Regions from separate parts of the Homo sapiens genome. Here regions 1, 2, 3, 5 and 6 are each linked to region 4. The links are contacts of gene promoters, found by promoter capture Hi-C in blood cells and fetal thymus (Javierre and others, 2016). All regions are on one chromosome and are shown on one strand. The core of a region is centred on a gene start or on the middle of the fragment in contact, and the rest is flanking DNA. Distances in the headings are between cores, read along the strand shown.

Region 1 (4,759 bases), core at 513-3,012, 420 kb before region 4:
GGGCCAGTGGGGGAGGTTGTTTCCACTAGGAGATTTTTATAAACCCTCTCCAGCCTCTCCCAAAGGAAGCGTTGGCAGCAAAGGGAGATGATGCCCTTACCCACCTTCCTGTGAGTGAAGAGAGGAAGCAGCCCCAGGGACCAATTTTCCCAATTGACCTCTTTCTTCCTCTTTCACCATGTGAGGCAGGGAGCCCTGAGCCCTTCAGCTGCCTGCACAACCCCTGACATTGGCTGCTGGTGACTCAATCTGCCAAATGTGCTGCAGCTCGTTTTCTCCCAATTACAGCAAGACTGTCAGCCTCACTAGCCATGTCATCATTTCTGGGTGGGAGCGTCGAAGGGCCTAGGCAGCGAGTGGAGAGAGCCCACTGCCCAGTACCAGAACTGAAAGGGTTGGGCTAATGGCTCTGCCAGGTATCACTGCTGACACAGGCTATTTTGGGCTCTGACACACAGCTGCCTCTAGGCAGGGGAGAACCAAGTGTTGCAACACTTCATTAGCGTGGAAACTTCCTTTCACACAGGGGAGCAGGATCCCAGAGGGGGTCCCTGATTGGGGGCAACTTCCAGGACTATCTCAAGCAGTGTTTGGACCTGTTTCATCTGTATCCTCCAACTATTTGGCCGTAATTCTTCCTTGAGCTAAGCGAGGCAGAAGCTCTGCCTGCTTCCAGGAGTGGAAGGTGAAGAATTTGTTCCCAACTCCAGTTGAGGCTTTTGATTCCCTCCAAGCACTTCACCAAATCAAAGCCAGTCACAGAGAATGGAGACACCTGCCCAGAATACCCACCGTCCAGGGAGATTAGTGTGCTTTGTTCTTCCTGACCGAGACTCACAACCACATTCTGAGGTCACTCGAGTGCCCCTGTCTCATACATTCCAAAGGAAGTTGAAGCTATAGAGACAACAGTCAGGGGCTGGTGGTGGTGCTTTTGGGGGTCTAGGAGAGCCCAAGGCCCTGATATTTTAAAATGTCCTCCTCGGCATCTCCAGCAAGTTGCCACTGCTGGTGAGCTTCACTGTCTGCCCCGTTGACACGATGGGTTTCTAGTAGGGGACGCCATTGATGGAAGGTCTGTGAAGACAATGCTCGCCAAACCCCTGACAGATGTCGTATCATTTGACTCAGCAACTCAGGGCGGGGCGGGGTGGGGGAAATTCATAACACAAATTCATTTATTTCACAAATATATGTTGAGTTTTTACCATGTGCCAGGCATAGTACCTGCCGAGTCAAGCCCTCGAGGAAAAAAAGCCCTTAATTAGTCAACGTTCGAGCTCACATTCTAATTCTCAACTTCGTGATTTGTTAATCCATCTTATAGGCGAAGAAAGCGAGGTATAGACAAGGAGCCGAGCTGAAACACTGGCTAGATTCCGGTAGGGGTCTGAGCCATCACTCCCACCTGGAGGCGCGGTCTCCATTCCTCTGAAGCCCTTTGTGCGGCCCCCTTCCTCACTGAGTTCTGGGCTGCGGCGGCAGCACTGTGCTCTAGCACTAACTCTGAAGCTGCCAGGGCAGCGTCAGCGGACAGATGAAAAGGTGCGGGGACATGCTGGCTGCCAGCCGGGGTTCCGCAAGTTCAGGTCTTGGGCGGGGCGTGGAGGGCCAGGCCCCGCCCCTCGAACGACGGCCTTAAGTGTGCGCACGCGCAGGGGGCCGCGCTTTCTCCGGGCGGCGGCACCGCCCACAGCCTGGGACGTCAGCGGCGCGCGACGTGCTTTGCTGTATAAATGCGGTGGCGCCCGGCGTAGGGACACTTCGGTCCTGAGCGCTTGGGAGTTAGGTTGTTTGCCGGCGTAGCGGCCAGCGCCTGAGCCCGCCCTTGATCTTCGCTGTGGCATGGCGGACGAGGGGAAGTCGTACAGCGGTAAGTGCTGGTCTTCGGGTCGGGAACTGGCTATCTGGGGCGCGGGTGGGCGGCGCCGGCCTAGGCCTCAGCCCCCGGGGCGTGAGGCCGCTAGGGGCCCGGCGTCCGCGGGGAGCGGCGCGCGGGGGGCCGGGCACTCGAGGTGGACACCCGAGTTGTTGACTCCTGGATTCCTGCTGGCATCCTGGTGTTGGGGGACCTGCGGCTCGGAGCGGATGGCTCGGGGGTAGGGTGACGGGATTCCTTTGAACTTTGTGGGTGGTTGATGCCTGTCAGTTAGGTTTGGCGGCCTGACTCTTCCTTTAATGTGAGTGAGTGCCCTGCTCGTGGGCTGCCCTGATGCCCTATTTTTTACTGCGTCCAGTCGGTCTTGAACTCTCGGGCCTGGGCTTTGGCTTAATATTCGAGACTTACACATCAACTGGATATTCTAGTCTGAACACTACACTGGGTGTTAGTTCTTTGTAGTAAGTTAGGAGTGCGTGGTGGAGGTTGAAACCGTGAATTTAAAACTCTCGTTTTCCACCCCCTTAATGTGGAATAACAACAGCATTTCTTAAGAGTGTGTGTGGGGAGGGGAAATGAGATCATTCCTATCAAGTGCCTGAAGCATAGTGGCCGGCACTGGAGAAAGTTCTCAGTGAATGTTAGCTGCGCCTTCTATGTTCTTTTTTCCTAGGGTCATTTGTTGAGATTCATTGTTTACAGAGTGCTGGGTATTAGGCAGACCTCTTTTGGGAGTTAGGGACCTTTTTTAAGACGCCAGTCCTACACAGCATGAATCAGAAGGTCATCTTCCTGGAGAGCATTCCAGGGTCCCTGGTTAAGCACCCTAGCCTGGCACTGCCACTAGAGCCTGAGTCTAGAATTTGTCTCCTGAGTTAAAGGACATTTCTGGCCATGGAAACGAAGAGCTCCTCACAAAACTTCAAAGTGGCAGTTTGAGAACAAGGAGAATTTTTAGAGGATCCTTAAACTGGTCATATTTGTAACTGGCGTCTGCACTGTATAGACAAAGTACTGAGTGGCAGATTTCAGGTGGCTTTCAGAGGTCTGATTTGTGTTCAGTTACACTTTTGGGTCTCACATTTCTACATCCTGCTTCTCTCTAATTCCAGTTTCTACTTCATTTTTCAAAAGCCCTACACAGTTTTCCAGTAACTTTTCCCTGATGCTGCCCTCCCACAGAGAGGGTTCTTTCCTGTGGATAGGGAGCGGAGTTTGCATGGAGATGGCCTCTGTCGTTAGTATGTATCTCTTCCAATAGTTCAGAGTACTAGAAGCTATGATTGCCACACCAAACCGGACCAGTTACTTACTTCTAATTTGTGTTCCTGTTTCTAACTCTAGAACACGATGATGAACGCGTTAATTTCCCTCAAAGAAAGAAGAAAGGCCGGGGTCCCTTCCGGTGGAAATATGGTGAAGGAAACCGTAGGTCTGGAAGAGGCGGTTCTGGTATTCGGTCTTCCCGCCTTGAGGAAGATGATGGAGATGTGGCAATGAGTGATGCCCAGGATGGTCCCCGAGTACGATAGTGAGTGACCAGTTGGTCTGGTTTGAATTTAGTGGCTCATGAGATTATATGGCCCTTTTACTGTCCATGTCATTTCCTTTCCCACCTGTTAGAGTGAGAAATGCCAGGACTAGCTTAGTGATTAAACAGTCTTAGTTGTAGTCCCACTAACAGTGCAGGAAGGCCTTTGAGAAGACTTTCCTAGCATTTGTGGTCATTTTATTCTCTGCTTACCCACAGCAACCCCTATACCACCCGACCTAACCGTCGGGGTGATACTTGGCATGATCGAGATCGCATTCATGTTACTGTGCGGAGAGACAGAGCTCCTCCAGAGAGAGGAGGGGCTGGCACCAGCCAGGATGGGACCTCAAAGAACTGGTTCAAGATTACAGTGAGTACTTTGAGAAAGTAGATGGTACAGTAGAGATAGGAGGCCACGCTGAGAGTGGAGATGTTTAATTTTATTCCACAAAAATTATTATTATTATTTTTTTTAAATGGAGTCTTGCTCTGTCACCCAGGCTGGAGTACAGTGGCGTGATCTCGGCTCACTGCAGCCTCCGCCTCCCGGGTTCAAGCTATTCTGCCTCAGTCTCCCGAGTAGCTGGGACTACAGACACCCACCACCACGCCCGGCTAATTTTTGTATTTTTAGTAGAGACGGGGTTTCACTGTATTGGCCAGGCTGGTCTCGAACTCCTGACGTCATGATCTGCCCGCCTTGGCCCCCCAAAGTGCTGGGATTATAGGCATGAGCCACCGCACCCAGCCCAAAAATTCTCCTTGTCATCTGATTACTCCACACTCAAGTATCTATCTTTTCTCCTAGGAATCAGTATCTTCCAACACCTTAGAGCAGGTTCAGAGAAGGGGTGGAAGAGAAATATGAAAATTTTGGTTGGGGGAGGGAGTAATTCCTCTGGATGTCTTCATTTGGCTCAGGCTGAGTGTGGGGCTTGGAGTCCCTGGAGTGCCCTGGAGTTCTCTGAGGGGCAGGCAAGGTGTAAATAATATCTTGGAACTTTTAGAATAAATAAAATTGATTTTTTTTTGAGAGATTATAAGTGTAAATGGGCTGGGTACAGTGGCTCATGCCTGTAATCCCAGCACTTTGAGAGGCCGAGGTGGAGGATCACTTGAGGCTGGGAGTTCAAGACCAGTCTGGGAAATACAGCAAGACCCCTTCTCTACAGAAAATTTTAAAATTAGCCGGGCATGGTAGTACATGCCTGTAGTCCTAGCTACTCCAGAAAGCTGAGACAGGAGGATCGCTTGAGCCTAGGAAATGAAGGCTGCAGTGAGCTATGATCGCACCACTGCACTCCAGCCTGAGTGACAGAGTGAGGCCCTGTTACTAAGAAAAAATA
Region 2 (4,820 bases), core at 2,096-4,595, 260 kb before region 4:
CGTAGACCCCATTCTGGGCCACCAACTCTCAGCCCGGGAACATGCTCGCTGTGGTCTTCTCCTGCTCCGTTCTTTGCCACCTGCTCGGGCTGCTGTGCTTGACCACTTGAGAGGTGTCTTTGATGAGAGTGTCCGGGCCCACCTGGCTGCCCTGGATGAAACCCCTGTGGCTGGTCCACCTCACCTCCGTCCACCTCCACCCTCTCATGTCCCTGCTGGTGGACCTGGTCTAGAGGATGTGGTTCAGGAAGTGCAGCAGGTGCTGTCTGAGTTTATCCGGGCCAACCCAAAGGCCTGGGCACCTGTGATTAGTGCATGGTCCATTGACCTCATGGGGCAACTGAGCAGCACGTACTCAGGCCAGCACCAGCGTGTTCCCCACGCTACTGGCGCTCTTAATGAACTGCTACAGCTGTGGATGGGTTGTAGGGCCACGCGTACATTAATGGACATCTATGTGCAGTGCCTCTCGGCTCTCATTGGTAGCTGCCCAGATGCGTGTGTGGATGCCTTGCTGGATACCTCTGTTCAGCATTCTCCACACTTTGACTGGGTTGTGGCACATATTGGCTCCTCTTTTCCTGGCACCATCATTTCCCGGGTTCTCTCCTGTGGCCTTAAGGACTTTTGTGTCCATGGTGGGGCTGGAGGTGGAGCTGGCAGTAGTGGTGGAAGCTCTTCTCAGACCCCCTCTACAGACCCCTTCCCTGGATCTCCTGCCATTCCTGCGGAGAAACGGGTGCCCAAGATTGCCTCAGTTGTAGGCATCCTAGGTCACCTGGCCTCCCGCCACGGAGATAGCATCCGACGGGAGCTCCTGCGAATGTTCCATGATAGCCTGGCAGGGGGATCTGGAGGCCGCAGTGGGGACCCCTCCCTTCAGGCCACGGTTCCGTTCCTACTGCAGCTGGCAGTCATGTCACCAGCTTTGCTGGGCACTGTCTCTGGAGAGCTTGTGGATTGCCTCAAGCCCCCAGCTGTGCTGAGCCAGCTGCAGCAACACCTTCAAGGATTCCCCCGAGAGGAGCTGGACAACATGTTGAACCTGGCTGTGCACCTGGTGAGCCAGGCCTCTGGGGCAGGTGCCTACCGCTTGCTGCAGTTCCTGGTGGACACAGCTATGCCTGCTTCGGTCATTACCACCCAGGGCCTGGCTGTGCCAGACACCGTGCGTGAGGCTTGTGACCGGCTAATCCAGCTGCTGCTGCTGCACCTGCAAAAACTGGTTCATCACCGGGGAGGGTCTCCTGGGGAAGGGGTGCTAGGCCCGCCCCCACCTCCCCGCTTGGTGCCCTTTTTAGATGCGCTCAAAAACCATGTTGGAGAGCTGTGTGGAGAGACGTTACGATTGGAACGGAAGCGCTTCCTCTGGCAGCACCAGCTCTTGGGCCTGCTGTCTGTCTATACCCGGCCTAGCTGTGGACCTGAGGCCTTGGGCCATCTGCTGAGCCGAGCCCGAAGCCCTGAAGAGTTGAGTTTGGCCACCCAGTTATATGCAGGGCTAGTGGTCAGCCTCTCTGGCCTCCTGCCCCTGGCTTTCCGAAGCTGTCTGGCTCGGGTGCATGCAGGGACATTACAGCCTCCCTTCACGGCCCGGTTCCTGCGCAACTTGGCACTGCTAGTAGGGTGGGAACAGCAGGGTGGCGAGGGCCCTGCAGCCCTAGGGGCGCACTTTGGGGAATCTGCCTCAGCCCATCTGTCTGACCTGGCTCCTCTCCTGCTACATCCTGAGGAGGAAGTAGCTGAAGCTGCTGCCTCTCTCCTGGCCATTTGTCCCTTTCCTTCTGAAGCCTTATCCCCCTCCCAGCTCCTGGGACTGGTAAGGGCTGGGGTGCACCGCTTCTTTGCCTCTCTGAGGCTGCATGGACCCCCAGGTGTGGCCTCAGCCTGTCAGCTTCTCACCCGCCTGTCTCAGACATCCCCAGCTGGGCTCAAGGCTGTCCTGCAGCTGCTGGTTGAAGGAGCCTTACATCGAGGCAACACAGAACTGTTTGGTGGGCAAGTAGATGGGGACAATGAGACTCTCTCAGTTGTTTCAGCTTCTTTGGCTTCTGCCTCCCTGTTGGACACTAACCGGAGGCACACTGCAGCTGTGCCAGGTCCTGGAGGGATTTGGTCAGTTTTCCATGCTGGAGTCATCGGCCGTGGCTTAAAGCCACCCAAGTTTGTCCAGTCACGAAATCAGCAGGAAGTGATCTATAACACCCAGAGCCTCCTCAGCCTCCTGGTTCACTGCTGCAGTGCCCCAGGGGGCACTGAATGTGGGGAATGCTGGGGGGCACCCATCTTGAGTCCAGAGGCAGCCAAAGCAGTGGCAGTGACCTTGGTGGAGAGTGTGTGTCCCGATGCAGCTGGTGCAGAGCTGGCCTGGCCCCCCGAGGAACACGCCCGGGCCACCGTGGAGCGGGATCTCCGCATTGGCCGGCGCTTCCGCGAACAGCCCCTGCTCTTTGAGCTGTTAAAGCTGGTAGCAGCTGCACCCCCAGCCCTGTGCTACTGTTCCGTGCTGCTTCGGGGGCTGCTGGCCGCCCTCTTGGGCCATTGGGAAGCCTCTCGCCACCCTGACACGACCCACTCCCCCTGGCACCTGGAGGCATCCTGCACCTTAGTGGCTGTCATGGCTGAGGGAAGCCTCCTGCCTCCGGCCCTGGGTAATATGCATGAAGTATTTAGCCAACTGGCACCTTTCGAGGTGCGTCTGCTGCTGCTCAGTGTCTGGGGTTTTCTCCGGGAGCATGGGCCCTTGCCTCAGAAGTTCATCTTCCAATCAGAGCGGGGTCGCTTCATTCGGGACTTCTCCAGGGAGGGTGGAGGTGAGGGTGGACCCCATCTGGCTGTGCTGCACAGTGTCCTCCACCGCAACATCGACCGCCTAGGTCTTTTCTCTGGCCGTTTCCAGGCACCTTCACCGTCCACTCTCCTTCGACAGGGGACGTAGCCTTTTCTTGCTCTGGAAGCCCAGGGAGGTTGAGCAGTGAGAGAGGGAAGGGACTAACGTGCTCCGGAAGGGTGGAGGTTTCTCTTCTAAGTCCTTGGTCTAAAGAGCGCTGTCACTTTTTTCTCTCCCACTTTTTTTTTTCTAAATAAAATTTGCCAACTTGAGAAAACCAGTCCAGTGCTTCTGTCATGCTGAGAGCGTGCAAAGTCTGACAGCGCCTGGCTCTGGACGTTCCCGCCCCTGGCCTGAAGCCCCGCCCCCTGCGATAATTTGGAGTGCGCACTCTACCAATGAGACAGCTGCCCGGCGGCGCTCAGGTCGAACCAATCATAAGGCCGGAAGGGGCGGGAACTAGGATACGTGGCTGAGCGCGCGCGATGGGGCGGGAGGTTTGGGGTCAAGGAGCAAACTCTGCACAAGATGGCGGCGGTAGCGGCAGTGGCGGCGCGTAGGAGGCGGTGAGGAGCCCGGAATCTGGGGGCGCGCCCGGGACGCCCCCAGATCCCCCAAGTCCCATTCCACTCCTTCCTGTGTGTCTCTTGACACTCTGCCACCCCCGGCCTCGTGAGGAACCTTTGTTCCTCTGGAGGCGGCCTCAGACGCCTCCGGTCTCCCCGTGGTAGATCCGAGCGACGCTGGGGGCCTTGCCTGTGGGGCTCCGGGCTCCCGCCCGGCGGTTTAGTAAAGCCACAGCTGTGCGTCTTTCTTGGTCTTGGCCGCTCTCAGCCGCCGCCCTCCTTTGGCTGCTTGCGGCGGTCAACGTCGCCGCCCCCTTCCTGCAGTGCGCGGGGTCGTCGGGGCGGGGGAAAAGATGCGGCCTGGCCTCGGGGAATGCAGCCTGCGGCCCCGCGGCCCCTCGGCTGAGCTGGAAGCACCGGGCCAGCAGTTAAGCCTGTACTACCCTTCTGGCTCTACCCTGTAGAGCTCCGAATCCTCCTCTGCCCTTGTCTTCACGTGAGCACCAGCTCTGGCTTAGTTCAGTGTCCACGGTCGCTGGGCACGGCCCAGGGTCCAGTAAGCTCACGGCGTGGATGGTGTTGCTCAAACACAACATGTAATCGAATGGCTTGGTCCACGCTCTCGGGTTTATATTACTGGGGAAAAAAAAAGATTCGAAACATATCACCAGTGCCACAAATGTTTACTAGGACCTAACGGATATACTGGGGTGGGGTAGGCGTGTACTCTCCAAAGCGATGAAGAAAGCGTGGATCATAAACTCAGTTCCCTCGGAGCCTGTGATCTGAAACAATAAATGCGTGCAACTTGCCCTGCAGCTTATTCCTGACTTTGGCCTATGAACACCTCTCTTGGGGTGGTCAAGGCCGCCGTGAATTCCTTAGGGCCCTCCAACAGGTCATATCTGAAAGATGCTTTAGGAATCCTATCTCCATTGGCATCTTTCCGAACCAATTTTACAGACTGTGCAAATAGGGCCCCAGAGGGTATTTAACTCACTGTACGTCTTTTTTTTTTTTTTTTGAGAGACAGAGTCTCGCTCTGTTGCCCAGGCTGGAGTGCAGTGGCGAGATCTCGGCTCACTGCAAGCTCCGCCTCCTGGGTTCACGCCATTCTCCTGCCTCAGCCTCCCGAGTAGCTGGGACTACAGGCACCCGCCACCACGCCTGGCTATTTTTTTGTATTTTTAGTAGAGACGGGGTTTCACTATGTTGGTGAGGATGATCTCGATCTCTTGACCTCGTGATCCACCCGCCTCGGCCTCCCAAAGTGCTGGGATTACAGGCGTGAGCCACCGCGCCCGGCCTCAACTCACTGTACTTCTATTTACTGCTGCTTTTGGCAGGTGGACGTGGGTCAGTGGCCAAGAGTGCCTGTTGCAGTCACTCAGGTCACTCACTGCAGGACCTGTGCCGCATGCCTT
Region 3 (4,800 bases), core at 497-2,996, 380 kb before region 4:
AGGCCAGGCATGGTGGCTCACGCCTGTAATCCCAGCACTTTGGGAGGCCGAAGCTGGTGGATCACGAGGTCAGGAGATGAAGACCATCCTGGCTAACACGGTGAAACCCTGTCTCTACTAAAAATACAAAAAATTACCCAGGAGGCTGAGGCAGGAGAATCACTTGAACCCAGGAGGCAGAGGCTGCAGTGAGCCGAGATTGCACCACTGCACTCCAGCCTGGATGACAGAGCTAAACTCAGTCTCAAAAAAAACACAAAACAAAAAACAAAAACAAACAAAAAAAAAAGATCTTCTAAAAGAAAGAAAGAAGAACTATTCTTTTTTTTTTTTTTTGGAGATGATGTCTGATGTCTCACTCTGTCACCCAGGCTGGAGTGCAGTGGCTTGATCTCGGCTCACTAAAACCTCCGCTTCCCGAGTAGCTGGGATTACAGGCCTGTGCCGCCACACCTGGCTAATTTTTGTATTTTTAGTAGGGATGGAGTTTCGCCATGGTAGCCAAGCTGGTCTGGAACTCCTGACCTCAGGTGATCCGCCCACCTCGGCCTCCAAAGTGCTGAAATTACAGGCGTGAGAGCCACCGCACCTGGCCCGACGAGCTTTTTTTTTTTTTTTGGAGACACAGTCTCGCTCTGTCACCCAGGCTGGAGTACAGTGGCGTGATCTCGGCTCACTACAACCTCTGCCTCCCTGGTTCAAGCAATTCTCCTGCCTCAGCCTCCCGAGTAGCTAGGACTACAGGCATACGCCGCCATGCCCAGCTAATTTTTTGTATTTTTAGTAGAGACGAGGTTTCACCGTGTTGCCCAGGCTGGCCTCGAACTCCTGAGCTCAGGCAATCCAGGTGCCTCGGCCTCCCAAAGTGCTAGGATTACAGGCGTGAGCCACCGCGCCCGGCCACGAATAGCACTGTACTATGCCTGAGACACAGCTAAGTGCTTTATATGGATTACTTCACTATATTCTCAATAATAAGATATTATTATGTATTTCGTCTATTTCACAGGCAAGGAAATCAAACCTCAGAGGCTAAATGTTCCATGACTTCTCCAAGATCATGAAGTAAGCACTGAGTAAGTAGGGAGGGGGAGCAAGGACTCAACCCCTTGCTCCTAATCTTTACTCTATACCGCATTCAGGAGCCGCCAGCTGTATGGGGAACAAGGCCTGGATCCCACCCCAAAGACATGGATTGGAGACCCACCCCTTGGTGACCCTAGACCCGCCAATAGATCGTTGTGAAGCTGCAGTTTCCCTATCTGTAAAATGGGAGCATTTAGTCCACCAGCGCGAAAGGCACGGAGGGAGTTTCCCTATTATATGACCGTACACGAAATCTAGACTGTGACCAAAGTCTCCCGCTCCTCAGCCTCCTCTCCTCCGCATCCTCAGCCACTAGTCACGCTGGAGAGGAGGCGTGGGAACTGACCTCCGCGGGCCGGGCCTCGGCAACGCGCATCCTCCCACCCGGCCTAGCCCAGCCCAGATCGGGGAGGGGGTGCGCGGGGGGAGGAGGTCAGGGGTCACTGAACTTGGGTCACGTGGTCAGCCAAGGGGGCGGGCCCTCGCGGTGCGGGCTCCAAGACTGGTGAGTAAGCAGTCGGCGTCGGGAATGGGGAGTCCTTGGACCAGAGCAAGGCCTGCTCACCTGAAGACCCCGGCGTGGCGAAGGCTGCTACCGAGACGACGGCGGCGGGGGCGGTGGCGGCGGCGCCCACTCACGAGCTCACACTCATTCCCTCTCCCGGGGCCCCGGCCCCGCCCTCCCCAATACAGCCAGTCGGCGGGCGCCTTGGAAAGTTTCCGGCCCTCCAGGAGGCTTCCTGGCTCTTGATTGGCCAGTGTGAACAGACTGTAGAGACCGGCGGTCACGTGACGCTGAAGATTCCCGCTTCTTAAAGCAACCTCTCTTGCTACGTTTGCGAGTAGGTGTGTATTGTTTTAACACACGTTTAATAAGCATATTTTATTTTTTTTACCACCACAATAGTAACGAGGAAATAAACAGTCTCAAAGACAGCGTCTTGATTTTCTTTGTCTTGTTTGCTCGCGAGTTTCTGAGCACCCGCATTTTCGCGACTGCAGCAAAGCTTTAGATTTTGGTGTCTGGCTTAGTTTTCCTGCCCGGCCTACCTCCCCAACATCACATGCCACTTCCCCTTCCTGAAGGGATAGATGGGGCTCTCGGTAGGTGTTCTCGGCAGGCAGAAGGGACTTCTGACCCGGCCGAACATCCCGTGCAAGCTCCGGACTCCAGGGTTCTGCTCTTTCTGCACCTACTTCGCATTCTCCCCACGCCTGTGAACCAAATACAAGCCCTGGCCTACCTCGCCTTGCATGACCGTTGGACACGCACACTGACAGCTCTCTTTCTCCAACTCCCACTGCAATAGCAGCTACTTGGGCAGTTCTTAATTGATAAGCAGTGGGCTTAGTGAGTAAAGGATGGTATTTGGAATCAGACCGACCTGGGTTAAAATTCTGACACTGCCTTTGGGCAAATTACCTAATATGGAGTAATAATGCGCACTTCACAGGGTTGTTGTAAATTAATGTCTGTGAGAGTCCCTGGCAGAGTTGGAGGTTAAACTTCTTTCCCGGCCGGGCGCGGTGGCTCACGCCTGTAATCCCAACATTTTGAGAGGCCGAGGCGGGGGATCACCTGGGGTCGGGAGTTCAAGACCAGCCTGATCAACATGGAGAAAAATCCATCTCAACTAAAAATACAAAATTAGCCGGGTGTGTTGGCACATGCCTGTAATCGCAGCTACTCGGGAGGCTGAGGCAGGAGAATTGCTTGAACCCGGGAGGCGGAGGTTGTGGTGAGCCGAGATCGCGCCACTGCACTCCAACCTGGCCAACAAGAGTGAATCTCCGTCTCAAAAAAAAAAGAGAGAAACTTTCTTTCCCTCACATGTCACAAGGCATACAGTGAATTCCTTTAAGTTCACCCAAGATGGGGTAGTTTGCACTGAGTGAACTGTGGGAACATTCTGCAAGGGAGCATGAATGTACACATTTTTTCTCTTTCCCCCTCTCAGGGTTAGATGCTGCTGCCGCTGGAAAAGAAAATCCCCTGGGACCCGAGCTGGCAAAGCCAGATGGATGCGACTGTGGTTGCCATGGCAACCCCACCTAAGGAGAATGTGACCCTGCTGAGTCTCTTCCACTCATATTCAGAACCATATTAGAAGTGGTTTCAAGTGTCTGCCCACCTGTGCGTTAAGGGAAAGAGAGAGGGCGCTCTCCTCTAAGGTCTGACTGAGCCTGAAGTCAGCTTAGCCAGACCTGGGCAGCTGGCTGACCTCCTTGCTTAGGTTTACTGTTCTGGACAGCCATCAGCAACCTTGGAGACACTAGAAGATGGGAGGGAGACCGGGACTGCCCGGGACCTATTAGATGTAGTGAACCTGTATCCAACCTGTCTGGAGCTCATTTGCTCCCAATCTGAGTGGAGGCAGGAACCAGGGAAGGCAGTAGTGAGACCTCCATGGCCACAGATGGGAGAAAGGTGGCTCGCTCCACACACCCAATGCCTGGCAAGAACTATGATGGCTTTGGTGTCAGACTTTTTTTCTTTTTTCCTTTTTTTGAGACGGAGTAACACCCTGTTGCCCAGGCTGGAGTGCAGTGGCGCAATCTTGGCTCACTACAACCTCCACCTCCCAGGTTCAAATGATTCTCCTGCCTCAACCTCCCAAGTAGCTGGGATTACAGGCACTTGCCACTACCACCAGCTAATTTTTGTGTTTTTAGTAGAGACAGGGTTTTCACCATGTTGGCTAGGCTGGTCTCCAACTCCTGACCTTGTGATCCACCCGCCTCTGCCTCCCAAAGTGCTGGGATTACAGGCATGAGCCACTGTGCCTGGTCAAAGTCAGACTGTTTTTATTCATTTATTTTTATTTTTATTTATTTTTTGAAACTGAGTCTCGCTCTGTCGCCCAGGTTGGAGTGCAGTGGCGTGATAGCTCACTGCAACCTCTGCCCTCCCAGTTTCAAGTGATTCTCCTGCCTTAGCCTCTGGAGGAGCTGGGATTACAGGTGTCCGACACCATGCCTGGCTAAGTGCTGTAAGTTTTGTATTTTTAGTAAAGATGGGGTTTCGCCATGTTGGCCAGGCTGGTCTTCAACTCCTGACCTTGTGATCCGCCCGCCTCAGCTTCCCGAAGTGCTGGGATTACAGGCATGAGCCACCATGCCCGGCCAATTTTTTTTTTTTTTTTTTTTTGAGACAGAGTCCTTGCTCTGTTGCTAAGGCTAGAATGCAGTGGAGCAATCTCAGCTTACTGCAACCTCCACCTCCCCGGTTCAAGCGATTCTTGTGCCTCAGCCTCCTGAGTAGCTGGGATTACAGGCACGCACCACCATACCTGGCTAATTGTCGTATTTTTAGTAGAGACTGGGTTTTGCCATGTTGGCTAGGCTGTTCTCAAACTCCTGACCTCAAGTGATCCGCGCACCTCGGCCTCTCAAAGTGCTGGGATTACAGGCATGAGCCACCACAACAAGCCCAGACTGTTTTTAAAAAATCACAGCTCACCAGCTGTGTGACCTTAGGCATATTAGTTCACCTGTCTGACCTGTCTCATCAACTATAAAGCGGGATAACGAAATCTACTCCATGGAACTGTTGTGAAGATTCAGAAAAGTGTGTAAAGGATTTAGCATGTTGCCAAGCACATGGTACTCTATTAGCCTGTGACCGCTTTAGGAGGCTGTAACTTTCAGAATCCCTTAGTACCAACCTTAAAAGCTCAGAAGAGGCGGGGCGCGGCGGCTCATGCCTGTAATCCC
Region 4 (4,920 bases), core at 203-2,702:
TCCAGGCTCAATGTCTCTCTACTGCCCCCTTCTCCTGAGATGTGGAAGATAACAGTACTCAATGCTCTACCATTCCAGACCTAAGGGAAGGCGGAGAGTCAAAACAAGGTGTTAACGGCCTGAAAGCAACATCTGTAGCCAACAGGAAAGGGTTTCCTACACTTCTCCATGCGCTTACTTATCAAATACCTTCTATGCACTTATCTTCACAAATTATTTTACTTGTCCTGTGGTCTGTGTACCTTGTTCTATGTGGAACAGGGTGAGTCTAGCCAGGTTCACCTTCAGGATGCTTTCCCCATGCCCTGTGGTTGAGACGGCTCCGATGTCATTGTCGGCATAACCTCCAGCTCCTGCTCAAAAAGGGTGATTGTTCTGAGCAGTAACAGTCAAGAAATTCAAATCCATATTAGAAGTCGGACGCTACATGAAAGTTAAATCGCGAAGGGTGCTCAAGTACCGACAAAGGTCAGGTTAGTAGCCATGATCTGCGGAGGCAAAGGTGGACTAGAAAGCGTCATGTAGATGCCCCAGAATTTAGGAGGATAAAGGGAGCCTCAGAGGGGCAGGCCTGACCTTTCACAGAGCAGCTACAGCAGGACAGCATCTCCTTGGCCCCAAAGCACAGCCATTCCTTTTTGCTCAATGAAGCCACCCTCTCCCTGTCTCCTCCTCATGCCCCACACACTATGGAGGAAGAAACAGCATGACTGCATTATATGGATCTCTAGCAAGGCCATCATGTTCCAGTGATTTGGGGAAAATGATACCCACAACCTAACATCCATGCACACTGTCTAATGGAGGGCAGTTATATTTGTTGAGGGTGGGCATAATTGGACCTGAGGGAACTATTCTGGGCTATCCACTTAAGTGGGGGTCTGGAGTGAAAGCTACTTTGATAAGATTTCTTCCTTATTTTGGGCTTGGATTAAGCAACCTTACAGCCTTCTCTGAGTCATTCTTGTATCTGTTCACACACAGCTACCAGCCTCAGAGTCCTTTAGCCTTGGAAGGATTCGCCTTTACCCTCCCACAGTTGATACAGAAGCACAGAAGATTGACATTTGCCTTACTTATTGATGCTGGACATGGGGCAAGGACTCAGGAGTTGAGATGCTGCATTGGATTGTCACAAGGCCCCAGAGGTTCTCAAAGGCAGATAATCCCTGGCTCTGGTTCTGGAGGGAGCTGACACTGGACAGCCAATGAACTGCTGCAGTGGGAGGAGGCGCCTTTACTTTTTCTTATAAGCTTCTGCTGGGGAATTAACTGACCGGGTTCCATGGTGTCAAAGTGCCCTAATATTTGGAAGCAGCCAAGTCTTTGCTTACTTTTCAGTTACTCTAGGACCACAGAAGGCCAGGTGTCTCCAAGGGTGGTCCTGGCACAGGCATCGGGCGTGTGAAGCTGTCCTCCCCGCCACATGCACTTCTCAGGACAAGTGCATTGCCTGAGGTGACCACTGCTGAGCCTAGTACCGTCCCCCATGACTGTCCAGGCAGGGGCCTGGCCAGTGGCAGTGCTCCTTGGGGAGGCTCCTCAGAAGGCCAGGCAGAGCACACCTGGTGCTCACAGCTGGACAGAGAGTTCTGAGAATTTAGCTTATGCCTTTTCTTGTCAAGATTTACCACTGTAACTCAAGCTTAAAATTAATTTCTAGGATCTAACCTGGAGTGGCCCTGTGGCCTGGTCTGAACGCAGCTGAAGCAAGCTGCACTACTGACCAGGCACAGTTTGGTGGGATTTTTGCCAAGGAGAAAGAAAGGTAGACTACTTCACATCTCTTGGGTGATATACCAAGGAGAAGAGGAGTTACCAAGCCTCTACTCTTTTTAAGGAAGCTTCCAGTGTCTCTGAGTTCATGACAGAAAAAGGGTATCAAGAATTGTCGAGAGTGTAGATTATTACTAAAGACTAGAGCAACACATTAAAAAGGGAAGGTAGGGCTAGTTTTCCTCTAAAAGAATAAGCTGCTCTTTAGGGCAGATGGAACAATTTAGCTGCTTCTCAAAACTTCAGTCACCTGTGGGGGTTCATGAGGATTCCTGCATGACAAGTGTGAAAGTCTGCACGGAGTGAAACATACAGCCCCCCAGCCCTGCCTCTCACCCACTCCTGGGAATGAGATGGCGTGCTTCCCCGTTAATGTAAACAACATCTCAATCTATAATGTGTCTGTAGAAGTATGTCACTTTCATGCTGCTCAGATCTAACAACTGCAGTCTCAGATTTCTCAGATTGCTAATCAGAGCCCATGTCTCGGGAGTAAGTCTTACTCAAGTAAGTCTGCAGATCCTGAAACTGTGGCTAAAGAGAAGACAGAATCACGACAGGGTAGACTGGGGGCAACGTTAGCATCCCTGTCTCCACTTCTCTCCCCAAGTTGTTCCAAAAAGGCATGCAATCTAGTAAAAACAGTGGCGCCAGATACAAACACCCTCTCAAGGCAGCACCCCGAACAACCCCTTCCAACCCCATTGTCACTCCCAGACATCCTGGAGCTGCACCAAAAGCAGAAAGGGAACGCAGCAAGAAACGGAGAGGGGCAGGGAATAGAGAGTGAGGAAAGCCTGAGGGCGGGAGAAGAGGGGAAGGGGCAGGAGGCATCCCTTGGTCCTACCTAGACACGGTGAGTCCCCAACGCGGCCGACCATTTTATTAACGATACCGCCTGTGGAGGTTGCGTAGGCTACATTCCCTTTGCAGTCCAAGGCAACAGCACCCACGGTTCCCAAGTTTCTGCCAAAAATAAACAGAAAAAAAGTGACAGGCTGAAAATGAGAATGAACACCATAACCAACAATGTACCTTAAAACCACTTAAAGTTTCATGTTATATGTTGATGGGGCACCCATTTAATTCCAACATTCTAGAAAGAACCTGCTGCTTCTCATTCTACGTGTAAGTTACAGGTGGATTGCTGGACACTCCTCCACACCTCAGCTTTAAGAGTACATCCAATCCCAACACCACCGTTTTCTAGCTGTGATGCTAAGTTTTATTTTGTGTCTCTTTGTCCCCATCATAAAATGGGGATAAAAGTAAGAGTGCTTCTCAAACTTTAGTGTGTATAAGAATTCCTGGGGTGCTTGGGCCCACAGAGACTCTGAAGCTGCCACCAAGAGGAGAAAGGAAAGGAAAAAGTGACTTGGTAGATACAGGCTGGGACCCAAAATCCTGCTTTTTTTTTTTTTTTTTTTTTGAGATGAAGTCTCACTTTGTCGCCCAGGCTGCAGTGCAGTGGCACAATCTTGGCTCACGGCAACCTCTGCCTCCCGGGTTCAAGTGATTCTCCTGCCTCAGCCTCCCAAGTAGCTGGGACTACAGGCATGCACCACCACACCTGGGTAATTTTTATATTTTTAGTAGAGACAGGGTTTCATCATCATCTTGGCCAGGCTGGTCTCAAACCTCTGAGCTCAGGTGATACGCCTGCCTTGGACTCCCAAAGTGCTGGGGTTACAGGCGTGAGCCACTGTGCCTGGCTGATCCTGCGTTTCTGACAACCTCCCGGGTGTCGCTGATGCTGCCTGCCTATGGACCCTGTGCATGGGGTTGTCGTAAAGATCAAATCCGTTAATTTTCCCCTAACATTTTATTATGAATTCTCGAATACAGTCATGTGCCACCTATGATGTTTTGATCAACAGACTGCATATAGGATGGTGGTCCCATGAGATTATAATCCTCTATTTTTACTGTACTTCTATGTTTAGATACACAAGTACTTACCATTGTGTGACAACTGCCTAGAGGATTCAGGACAGTCACATGCTGCACAGGTGTGTAGCGTAGCAGCAACAGGCCGGACCACATAGCCTAGATGTGTATTAGTCTCTCCTATCTGGGTTTGTGTGAGTGCACCCCTATGATGTTTGCATGGCCATGAAATTGCCCAACTATGCATTTCTCAGGATGCATTTCTTGTCCTGTCATGAGACGCGTGACTGTAACACAGTTGAACAAATTGTACACGAACACCCCAGCATACCCACCAGCAAGGTTCTATAATGAATTATATTTGAGGCATTGTTTTAAGTGCTGGGACACAGTGGTAAAGCTAAACAAAGTCCTTTCTCCCATGGAGCCTGCATTTGGGGTAGAGGGTGGTAGTAACAGGGCAATAATATGTCAGGTGACAAAAACAAAACAAAAAAACAAAAAACCCAAACAAAAAAACAAAGAAGCACCAGGGAAGAGTGATGGTGGGGAGGTGCTGTTTTACACAGAGTGTCTCTGCAGGACAGAGGGGCAATCATGCCATCCCAGCTGCTGGGGAGGAGCGTTCCTGATGCACAAACATGCCTGCCATGTGCATGGAATTTGAAGGAGGCCAGTGTGGCTGGAGAGAATAAAATGAGGGAGAGCGTGGTAGGAGAATGATCAGAGGGACAGCCAAGTCCAGATCACGATATCTCTTGACAAGTGGGGTGACCATACACACTAGTTACCCAGGCCAGTTCAAATGTATGCCTGCTGTCATGGCTTAATTATTAATAGTACCACTTTTACTCTCAAAATTAAGTTTCAGTTTAAACACTAAAGAATATAATCATCCTACCTTTAGGCCATTGCAAAGGCTTTTATTCTGAGTTAAATGGGAGGACGCTGGGCAGTTTGAGTTAGGAAGTGACACAACCTGAGTTCAATCTTAAAAATAATCATTCTTGGCCAGGCGCTGTGGCTCACACCTGTAATTCCAGCACTTTGGGAGGCCGAGGCAGGCTGATCACCTGAGGTCAGCAGTTTGAGACTAGCCTGGTCAACATGGTGAAACTCTGTCTCTACTAAAAATACAAAAAAAAAAAAAAATTAGCTAAGTGTGGTGGCGTGTGTCTGTAATCCCAGCTATTTGGGAGGCTGAGGCAGAAGAATCGCTTGAACCCAGGAGGTGGAGGCTGCAGTGAGCTGAGATTG
Region 5 (4,487 bases), core at 720-3,219, 340 kb before region 4:
ATAGGCCCCACGTCAGACCCATCCGAATCTCTGGGGATGGGGCCGAGGAGGTTGTGTTTTAACAGACTCTCCAGGTGAAGTCTGAGAAGCCCTGCTCTATGGCAACTTAATTACAGCCGCACAGATTGACAGGTTATTCCAATTCATGGCAGAATAAATGGATGACAGTAAAAAAAAAAAAAAGTCAGCGTTTTTTCCCCCAATGTTCACAGATGTTCATGTTCCTGTCTTAATGCTCTCTAGCCACCCTTTAGCCCCGTTCTTACCAGCTAGATTGTTATAGCAGTCTGTCTGGGTGGTATGCAATATGTTTTCTTGTTCAGGCGTGAGGGCCGGGCCCTGAGGTCCGAGATTAGGTAACGGAGAGGGCAGACTCGGATCCAGACCCCGCAGCTGAAGCAGAGCTCGATGGTACCTACTCACAGCATCTCGGTACTTCCCTTCCCGGTAGCGCTGGTTCCCTTCCTCCTTGTACAGCTGAGCCTCCTGCAGACGCTTCTCCATAACTGTCGCCCACGGTTCTTGCGGAACTGGGAAGTGAAGGAGCAAGTGAAGCTCTGGGGTTGGGAGCAAAATAACTGACAGTAGCAGCCAATTTAAGGAGGCAGGAAATTACCCTTCTTCCTGGAGAGTCCCCCCACAGGGACCTGCGGTTTGCTTGTTTCTACTGAAAGCCCCACCTCTCCTTTCTGCAGTCTTTTTCTCAAGAAGTGCAGGCAAGTAGTAAGGAAAGGGATGTGGGAATAATGAAGCCCAACATTAAGTGACTTCCTAAAGAGGCGATGTGGGGGTGGATGAGACTTTCCGAAGAACTCAAGCAAGGCCCTACTCAGGAATTGTTGCGGGCGTGAGAACGCCTGGGACACTGGCTTCCGCCTTTCTATTGGACCCGCCCCCCCCCGACCTGGAAGTAGAAGGGAGTGGGCGGGACTAGTGCTAAAACTCCAGAGGGCTTCAAGCAATTCTAACTCTTCTTCCTTATTCAACATTTATTTGTTGACGTCAATAAATAAACTGGGAAGCCGAGGTGAACCACCAGCGACACTGAGGTGTCCACATAAGCGTCACAGCTGCAAGCCCACCCGGCGCCGTGACCAGTTCCTCGCCCTCTGCAGATGCCCAAACCTGGAAGTCTCCTGGGCTTCGGTTTACCAGCAGGAGCAAGGAGAGGAAAGGGTCAGAGATGCGTACAGTTTGGTATCTTGAGGGTCGCGCGCATTGCGCCACACCACCCAATCAGAAGAGGCTCCGGAAAAATAATCCCGCAGAAACGACCCCGCCTCCTCAGCGGACCAACCTGGGAAAAAAAAAAAAAAAAAATTCCCCTGGCAGCTTCGCCAATTGGAAAAATCCGGACGATCACGGATGACCAATCGGAACGGCAAATGACGATTCAAGTTGTCCAATAAGAGAAAAAGGGCGGGTTCAAGGGCCTCTGTTGCTGGGTAGAAGTTGAGGCGTTGAGGAAAAAGGAGGGCCCGGATTACAGTATTTCTTCGTTCTGGGGAGCCCTTTTGCTTCCTAGCCAGAAAAACAATTGCTACTAGGCTTACATGTTGCAACACATTCTCTAATGACTTTTTTTTTGTCGTTACTGCTGCAAGCACAGACAGTAGGGAAAAGAGGCTAGCGACCCCTAAAACGCCACAGCAAATGGAAGTCAGACGGAAGTAAGGGTGGTGGGAGGGGCATGGCATCGGGGAGCTCCGGGCGGCTGCGCAGAACTCCCCGGCTGGAAGTACTGAAAGACCGGCGCGCACACGCTTCCGTGCTACGAGGCACTTGAGCTGCAGCCAGCCTTGCCCGTCTTGGACTCCACTGCGGCTGCGCGATAAAAGCACCGGCGGCGATTGGCCCGGGGGCGCCAGAGGGCGGGAGGAAGCGGGAGGAACTCCGTCGTCCTCCGCGCGCGCCTGCCCGCGGCTGGGGAACCAAGGGCCTGGAGGGGAAACAGCTCCCTGCTGCGTTGTTTTGGGCTCCGTGAGCCGAAAGGGGGAGGGGAGACGAAGGAGAAGCAAACACTGCGCAGCGGGACCGTGCGCGGCCTCCGCTCCTGCGTGCGTGCGCTCGCTCGCGCGGGCTCAGTGCTGGCGCGTGAGGCGGAGGCGGGCGGCGGCGGCGGCGCCTGCGCGGTCGGACTCGGTCGACGGTTCGCAGGGGAGGAGGCGGCGGGAGGCGGAGGAGGCGGCGGCGGCGATGGAGGTGAAGCGGCTGAAAGTGACCGAGCTGCGGTCGGAGCTGCAGCGGCGGGGCCTGGACTCGCGCGGCCTCAAGGTGGATCTGGCGCAGCGGCTGCAGGAGGCGCTGGACGCCGAGATGCTCGAGGACGAGGCCGGCGGCGGCGGGGCCGGGCCCGGCGGGGCCTGCAAGGCGGAGCCTCGGCCTGTGGCCGCGTCGGGCGGCGGCCCGGGCGGGGACGAGGAGGAGGACGAAGAGGAGGAGGAGGAGGACGAGGAGGCGCTGCTTGAGGACGAGGACGAGGAGCCACCCCCTGCTCAAGCCTTGGGTCAGGCCGCGCAGCCGCCGCCGGAGCCCCCGGAGGCGGCAGCCATGGAGGCCGCGGCCGAGCCAGATGCTTCCGAGAAGCCGGCGGAGGCCACGGCCGGGTCAGGCGGGGTAAATGGTGGCGAAGAGCAGGGCCTCGGCAAGAGGGAGGAAGACGAACCCGAGGAGCGGAGCGGGGACGAGACGCCGGGATCCGAGGTGCCGGGTGACAAGGCCGCCGAGGAACAGGGTGAGGAGCTGGCAGCCGAGCCCGGCTCCAACCTGCCGGCTGCGCCCCTGATCTAGCACCCCGCCCTGCACCGCAGGGTCCGAGTCCTTGTTCTCGCTTGCCTCAAAGTGCCATTTGATGGAACTCCTTTCATTCTCTACCCACCTTTCTGAGGGGTTAGGCCGCCTCTCGTGGCCCTACTCTTTGCAGGAGGAAGGTTCCTGCCTAACTTGGTTCCTTGGTGATAGTGGATGGCAGTGAGTGATTTTGCATGCGAACTACTTGTGAGCTACCTGTGGAACAGTCTCCCACGGTGCTTGTTATATTTTTCTTAGCTGAGAAAGTGCTAAGCAATTGGGGATTACACGGAGAACTAGGCCCACAGTTAGAGGGTCAGGTCTTTGGGCTACCTGACCTAACTTTTTCGCCGTAAAAATGTTAAGCAAAAATCGAAGTCCGTCAAAGTCCGTTCCATTAAAAGCATGTTACCAGAGCTTGAGCCACAGAGAATCTGAAAATCCAACCTTGCTCCTCTTTGAGCTGTAAGGGAGAGCCTCTAGTGTAACAGTGTCGAGTTTAATAGTTAACCAGTGAAGAGAAAAATCTTAATCTAGTTCATTTAGAGTTAGTTAACGTTACTTGGCTAGGGTTTTTATCTTGCTTGGATTATGATTAAATTTTAATTGTCCCACTGAGTCCGTGGATAGGCATATTTGTAGATTTGCTGAACACCTGGTGCTAGTCTTTTACGTTTCAGGTCCCTCGGTTCCTGAATGGTAATGACTGAGGTGCTGTTGGGTCCGTTGAGTAACCTTGTGGAAGAGGTGTGTTGTAGAATCGCCCCAGGGAGTTAGTGACCTTTCTCCTTTCTTTTGAAGTGATTGGATGGTTAGAACTGATCCATAACAGTGTGTGTCCGAGTAGGGAGGATAAGTCTTACTATAAAGTGGGTGGCCTCAGTTCTTTTGTTAGTAATATTTTTAGGCCACTATGGAGAGTCATGGTATAATCGGAACCCATTGTACAACAATCACATGCAACTTGCAGATTGTTTGTCCTGTGTCCCGGAGCAAAAATCCCATTACATAACCTTTGACTTATGTATATCCCAAAGAGCAGATAAAAAAATAATTGAAGGATAGGCTGGGGGTGGTGGCTCACGCCTGTAATCCTGGCACTTTGGGAGGCCAGGCGGGTGGATCACCTGAGGTCAGGAGTTTGAGACCAGCCTGGTCAACATGGTGAAACCCCTGTCTCTAGTAAAAATACAAAATATTAGCCGGGCGTGATGGCGGGTGCCGGTAATCCCAGCTTCTTGGGAGGCTGAGGCGGGAGAATGGCTTGAACCCGGGAGGCGGAGGTTGCGGTGAGCTGAGATCGCGCCACTACACTCCAGCCTGGGCGACAGAACGAGACTCTGTCTCAAAAAAATATATATTGAAGGATAAAAGACTGCTTTAAAGAAATTATTATTAAAAACCTTCCTAGTGTTGCAAAATACAGAAGCCTAGGGAAAAACTCCAAGTTTTTTCCTCTTGCAGAGAAGTTGCTAAATATACAACAACACCTTTCTGCCCCAAATGTGCAGTCTAGATGCGGTATTATTTATGGATCTCTTGTGACTTAGTGGTTTGCTCTTGCAACTTTCAGTAGAAGTCCCTGATAAAAATACAGCTGTGTATAATGCACTTGAGTCCATTTGCCACATGAATAAAGCCATGGATGGCTGTGTATTTCAGTGCAGGAAAGGGAAATAAAAGAAATTGAGGCTTCT
Region 6 (4,944 bases), core at 2,437-4,936, 280 kb before region 4:
GGCAGATAAACAGTTTCTTTTTTTTTTTCCTTTGAGATGGAGTTTTGCTTTTGTTGCCCAGGCTGGAGTGCAATGGAGCGATCTCAGCTCACTGCAACCTCCACCTCCCGGGTTCAAGCGATTCTCCTGCCTTAGCCTCCTGAGTAGGTGGGGTTACAGGCATGCACCACCACGCCCAGCTAATTTTTTTTTTTTTTTTTTTTTAAGAGACAGGGTTTCACCTTGTTGGTCAGGTTGGTCTTGAACTCCTGACCTCAGATGATCCGCCCGCCTCTGCCTCCCAAAGTGCTGGGATTACAGTCTTGAGCCACTGTGCCTGGCCAGATAAACAGTTTCTTTATTCATCCTCCTCCTCTTCATCTTCCTCTTCCACCTTTTTCCAGGCAACTTTAGCAGGACCCTTTGCATCATCAAACCAACCTTTCTACTTATAGTCAGGAACATCCTTCTTATACTTTTCCTTCAGCTTTGCTACCTTAGTGATGTCATTTAAGTTATTTCACATCTCACCCAGAAAACCTAGCTTCTTAATAGAATAGGAATAGTGCCTATTTCTTGGGATTGTCATGAGGGTTACATAATGCTGGTATAAGATGCTTTAGCATAGTGCCTGGTACCTAATAAGTCCCCAGTAAGCATTAGCTACTAAAAGGATAATTTTATTTACTTATTTGAGGTGGAGTCTTGCTCTAGATCCCAGGCTGTAGTACAGTGGTGCAATCTCGGCTCATTATAACCAACGTCTGCCGGGTTCAAGCAATTCTGCCTCAGCCTCTCGAGTAGCTGGGATTGCAGGTGTGTGCCACCACACCCAGCTAATTCTTTGTATTTTTTAGTAGAGATGGGGTTTCACCATGTTGGCCAGGCTGGTCTTGAACTCCTGACCTCAAGATCCACCTGTCTCAGCCTCCCAAAATGCTGGGCTAAAAGGGTTTTGTTTTTTTGTTTTTTTTTTTTGAGACATCTCCTCACTCTGTTACCCAGGCTGGAGTGCAGTGGCACGATCTCGGCTCACCGTAACCTCTGCCTCCTGAGTTCAAGCGATTCTCCTGCCTCAGCCTCCCGAGTAGCTGGGACCACAGGCACGTGCCGCCATGCCCAGCTAATTTTTGTATTTTTAGTAGATACAGGGTCTCACCATGTTGGCGCTTCTCTCTGCTTTTTAAAACCAACCAAGAAGCACTGATGAGCTTATCTATGATAGTCCCTCTGGCTGCTGATCACCCCACCCTGCTGTCCTGTCAAACTGCTCCTGACTCCACTCCTTCCTGGACTAGGAGAAAGGCCACAGTTACTCTGTAAAGATCACATGTAACATGTGTTCCAGCAGCTGAAAAGAGCACCAATACTTATATCTGGGTTTACACCCCAGTGTTAGAAAGCTTTATTTGGGCCAGGCACGGCGGGTCATGCTTGTAATCCCAGCACTTTGGGAGGTTGAGGCGGGCAGATCACCTGAGGTCAGGAGTTCAAGACCAGCCTGGCCAACATGGTGAAACCCTGTATCTACTAAAAATACAAAGATTATCCTGGCATAGTGGCGCACCCCTGTAGTCCCAGCTACTGGAGAGGCTGAGGCAGGAGAATCGCTTGAACCCAGGAGGCGGAGGTTGCATTGAGTTGAGATCGCTCCATTGCACTCCAGCGTGGGCAACAACACAGAAATTCTGTCTCAAAAAAAAAAAAAAAGCTTTATTTGGTGTTCTGACTTTAATAACAGCAGCCTTTTTTTCAATTGCAGTCTTGCTTGGGAACCACAGGATAGACAAAAGAGGAGCAACTTGGTTGACTAGGCTGTGGGGCTTTGACCCCACTTATTTAATCCCCTCAGTGGCAGCTCCAATAAATCCTGACCAGATCCAGAGATTGGGGACCACTTTACATTTCTAAATTAATGTTTTACAATAATCCTCGTAGTTATGACCTTTCATAGAACAGGGCTGAGGTTTGTAACATGCTGGAGTTCAACCAGGATCTGTGACTCAAAGCACACTCCTTTTACTACTAGTAAGTCAGCCTCCTAAGCTTGTTTAACCAGAGGTTAAATAATGGCCACAGAAAGCATTGTGGCATATGTTAAGTGCTAGATGCCCCTCCAATCTCGCTCCAAGGACAGGAGTCCTGAGTGTCCACTATAGGCATCCATTACTTCAAGACTTCCCAGGATAGTTCAGATTTCAAGAATGTCCCACGGTTATCCCTGGAAGTACACTCCAACCTGACACCACATGACCTGTTTTGAAAATGTGGTTGGCCGGGCGCAGTGGCTCACGCCTCTAATCCCAGCACTTTGGGAGGCTGAGACGGGTGAACTGCCTGAGGTCAGGAGTTCGAGATCAGCCTGGCCACATGGTGAAACCCGCCTCTACTAAAACTACTAATATCAGCCGGGCGTGGTTGCGGACGCCTGTAATCCCAGCTACATGGGAGGCTGAGTAAGGAGAACAGCTTGAACCCAGGAGGCAGAGGTTGCAGTGAGCCAAGATTGCGCCACTGCACTCCTGCCTGGGTGACAAGAGCAAGACTCCATCTCAAAAAAAAGAAAAAATGTGGCCGCGGCAGGGCGAGGTGGTTCACGCCTGTAATCCCAGCCCTTTGGGAGGCCGAGGCGGGCGGATCACCTGGGTCTGGAGTTCGAGACCAGTCTAGCCAACATGGTGAACCCTGTCTCAACTAAAAACACAAAAGTTAGCTGGGCTTGGTGGCGCGCACTTGTGATCCCGGCTACTCGGGAAGCTGAGGCAGGAGAATTGCTGGAACCCAGGGGCGGAGGTTGCAGTGAGCCGAGATCGTGCCACTGCACTCCAGCCTGGGTGACATTGACTCCGTCTCAAAAAAAAAAAAAAAAAAAAAATGTGGTCAGATACCTATCGGGATCAGCCTCTTCTGGTGGGGTGGGACAGGCAGCAGCTCCAGGCCGCGCCCCCAGCACCGACCACGCGTCTCTAAGCATTGGTAGGTGTCGACTGCAGGGCTCATTCTGGGTGGAGGAACATGATTTTATTGGTTCTTTCAGTTCACCACATCCGACTCGCGTCTCGGCCCTGGCCCGCCTTGCGGACCTTAAAGCAGTCAGTCCAGGGTTTGGGGGAAACGTGCTCACCCGACGGCAGCTCACAGGACCCCGGAGAGTCCTGGCATGGTATCTCGGTCCGGACTCTCCGCTGGGCCCACGAAGGAGAAAGGCTGCCTCGGATTCCTGCGCCCAAGCCAAGGTCCGGCGCCCACGGAGGCAAGTCCGGTCTCACGGTGACCTCCCGCCGGCGCCGCCTTCGCCGCCAACCATCCAGTTCTTCCTCCAGGCCACGTTCTCCTGCGTGGTCGCTGCCTCCTGCAGAGTGGCCAGCAATAGCTGCTGGGTCCTGGCCGCCTCCTCCCTGCTCCTTGGGTCCTGCAGTGGCATCTCCTGAGGGCAGGAAGGGGAGTTCGCAGGAGCTCCAGTCCGGGGCTCTCCACCCGCCCACCCTTCCTCGGGACTACCAGTTGCTTCTACCTTTAGCATTTCCTGCTTCCGCCGCTCTCCCGGGGTCACGATAACGAGGAGCGCGTAGCCCACGCCAGCCCCTGCGCCCAGCATTGCGACTGAGATCAGCATTTTCCGCAAGGAATCCATGGCCGCCTGCACAGCCAGCGGAGCGCCCACGGGAGCTCCCCGCAGCCGCAAGCTGTTGCCGCGCGGTCTCACTACCCCTTGGCGCAGGCTAGAGCGCCCTATAGCAGAAACCATAGATAAGCGGCCGGCTAGAGAGGACCTGCTCGAGGAAACGTTTGGAATCCGGAGCGCTTGGATCTCAGGTTTAGCTGAGGGGGTTGAGGTGTCCAAGAAGTGCTGGCACCAAGGGCTGAGCGCGGGGACCCTGTGTCCTCAATTCCGGGGTGGGATTGCTAGGGGGAGAGTGCGTGTCTTCATGGTTGCCGTGGGTTTTATGATTGCCCATTTTTCTGTCTTCCGACGTTTCCCGATCAGTAGAGGCCCGAGCTGTGCTCTGTGGTTTCCTGCAGTCACCCGCGCGTTTTCAACACAGCGCATGGAGGGCATCTACACACATACACATCCCTCTCCATCCCCTCAACTCTGGAACAAACACTCAAAGTCAAGTATACTGGTTGGAGAAATGGGTAATAGTTACTTATCTTTAACATTTATTTTACAAACAACCTATTCCTTTTCTCGTCATGGTACACACTTGGTATTGTTTGGGTTTTTTTTTGGTTTTGTTGTTGTTGTTAGTGTGTGGGCGTGGTTTTGTTTGTTTTTGGAGACAAGGTCTCGCTCTGTCGCCCAGGGCTGGAGTGCAGTGGCGCGATCATGGCTCACTGAAGCCTCGACTTCCAGGGCCCAAGCGATCCTCCTGCCTCAACCTCCCGGATAGCTGGGATTACAGGCGTGCACCACCACGCCCGGCTGGTATTGCTTTTTGTTTTGCTTCGTTTTCTTTTTTGCTTTTTGAGACAGAGTCTCACTCTGTTGCCCAGCTGGAGTGCAGTGGCGTGATCTCGGCTCACTGCAAGCTCTGCCTCCCGGGTTCACGCCATTCTCCTGCCTCAGCCTCCCGAGTAGCTGGGACTACAGGCGCCCGCCACCACGGCCGGCTAATTTTTTGTATTTTTAGTAGAGAAAGAGTTTCACTATGTAGGTCAGGCTGGTCTCGAACTCCTGACCTCGTGATCCGCCCAATCCGCCCACCTCGGCCTCCCAAAGTGCTGGGATTACAGGTGTGAGCCACCGCGCCCGGCTGTTTTGCTTTGTTTTCAACCACTAAAAGGCTGGATTCGTGTAACATACTGAATTCTGCTTTACAGAAGAAAACACCTCTTAGCTGTGTGACTGATTATAGGCAAGTTCTTGTGCCCCGGTTTCTGCATCAGAAAATGAAGCTTATAACAACAGTACTTGTCTCACAGTTTTAGGATAATTAAATTAGTTATATGTAAAGCAATTAA

What was found. The method cuts DNA at HindIII sites, captures the fragments that hold promoters and counts their contacts. A CHiCAGO score of 5 or more calls a contact.
Region 1: a contact is called between the fragment with the promoter of NXF1 here and a fragment that was not itself captured in region 4, in 1 of 17 cell types (total B cells). The highest score is 5.4, in total B cells.
Region 2: the fragment with the promoter of GANAB here is called in contact with a fragment that was not itself captured in region 4 in 6 of 17 cell types (endothelial precursors, total B cells, M2 macrophages and 3 more); the score reaches 8.1 in endothelial precursors.
Region 3: a contact is called between the fragment with the promoter of TAF6L here and a fragment that was not itself captured in region 4, in 6 of 17 cell types (naive B cells, monocytes, total B cells and 3 more). The highest score is 9.3, in naive B cells.
Region 5: a contact is called between the fragment with the promoter of HNRNPUL2-BSCL2 here and a fragment that was not itself captured in region 4, in 2 of 17 cell types (monocytes and M0 macrophages). The highest score is 5.8, in monocytes.
Region 6: a contact is called between the fragment with the promoter of UQCC3 here and a fragment that was not itself captured in region 4, in 12 of 17 cell types (endothelial precursors, activated CD4 T cells, erythroblasts and 9 more). The highest score is 8.5, in endothelial precursors.

Annotation. Positions count from the first base shown.
Region 1 is chr11:62,802,443-62,807,201 of GRCh38, reverse strand. NXF1 (nuclear RNA export factor 1) reads left to right here and starts at 1,762. Exons shown (of 21, transcript NM_006362.5): 1 at 1,762-1,873; 2 at 3,224-3,410; 3 at 3,630-3,783. The coding sequence starts at 1,846. STX5 (syntaxin 5) reads left to right here. Exons shown (of 11, transcript NM_003164.5): 11 at 1-342. RefSeq lists enhancers at 1,244-1,293, 1,314-1,503, 1,470-1,969. The HindIII fragment of the contact is 11,555 bases long and covers 1-4,759 here.
Region 2 is chr11:62,645,138-62,649,957 of GRCh38, reverse strand. It overlaps GANAB (glucosidase II alpha subunit), which reads left to right and starts at 3,345. Exons shown (of 24, transcript NM_198334.3): 1 at 3,345-3,396. The coding sequence starts at 3,359. It overlaps INTS5 (integrator complex subunit 5), which reads left to right. Exons shown (of 2, transcript NM_030628.2): 2 at 1-3,110. The coding sequence ends at 2,938. RefSeq lists a silencer at 3,174-3,253 and enhancers at 3,864-4,023, 4,339-4,820. The HindIII fragment of the contact is 15,573 bases long and covers 1-4,820 here.
Region 3 is chr11:62,768,342-62,773,141 of GRCh38, reverse strand. TAF6L (TATA-box binding protein associated factor 6 like) reads right to left here and starts at 1,746. Exons shown (of 11, transcript NM_006473.4): 1 at 1,652-1,746. It also overlaps a transcript of TMEM223 not described here. RefSeq lists enhancers at 1,157-1,296, 3,459-3,508 and a silencer at 1,487-1,896. The HindIII fragment of the contact is 6,431 bases long and covers 1-2,095 here.
Region 4 is chr11:62,386,955-62,391,874 of GRCh38, reverse strand. It overlaps ASRGL1 (asparaginase and isoaspartyl peptidase 1), which reads right to left. Exons shown (of 7, transcript NM_001083926.2): 5 at 2,624-2,742; 6 at 243-353. Among named protein-coding and RNA genes, the nearest start is that of SCGB1A1, 30 kb to the left of the region's middle. The HindIII fragment of the contact is 391 bases long and covers 1,257-1,647 here.
Region 5 is chr11:62,724,866-62,729,352 of GRCh38, reverse strand. HNRNPUL2-BSCL2 (HNRNPUL2-BSCL2 readthrough (NMD candidate)) reads left to right here and starts at 1,969. Exons shown (of 24, transcript NR_037946.1): 1 at 1,969-2,734. It overlaps HNRNPUL2 (heterogeneous nuclear ribonucleoprotein U like 2), which reads left to right and starts at 1,896. Exons shown (of 14, transcript NM_001079559.3): 1 at 1,896-2,734. The coding sequence starts at 2,197. TTC9C (tetratricopeptide repeat domain 9C) reads right to left here and starts at 867. Exons shown (of 3, transcript NM_173810.4): 1 at 267-867. The coding sequence starts at 504. RefSeq lists enhancers at 486-595, 986-1,185, 1,436-1,485 and silencers at 1,746-1,905, 2,076-2,455. The HindIII fragment of the contact is 17,995 bases long and covers 1-4,487 here.
Region 6 is chr11:62,670,415-62,675,358 of GRCh38, reverse strand. It overlaps UQCC3 (ubiquinol-cytochrome c reductase complex assembly factor 3), which reads right to left and starts at 3,686. Exons shown (of 2, transcript NM_001085372.3): 1 at 3,494-3,686; 2 at 1,673-3,406. The coding sequence starts at 3,613. The coding sequence ends at 3,245. LBHD1 (LBH domain containing 1) reads left to right here and starts at 3,092. Exons shown (of 7, transcript NM_024099.5): 1 at 3,092-3,795. RefSeq lists a silencer at 2,883-3,012 and enhancers at 3,253-3,412, 2,779-3,520, 3,521-4,260, 4,261-4,944. The HindIII fragment of the contact is 2,853 bases long and covers 2,028-4,880 here.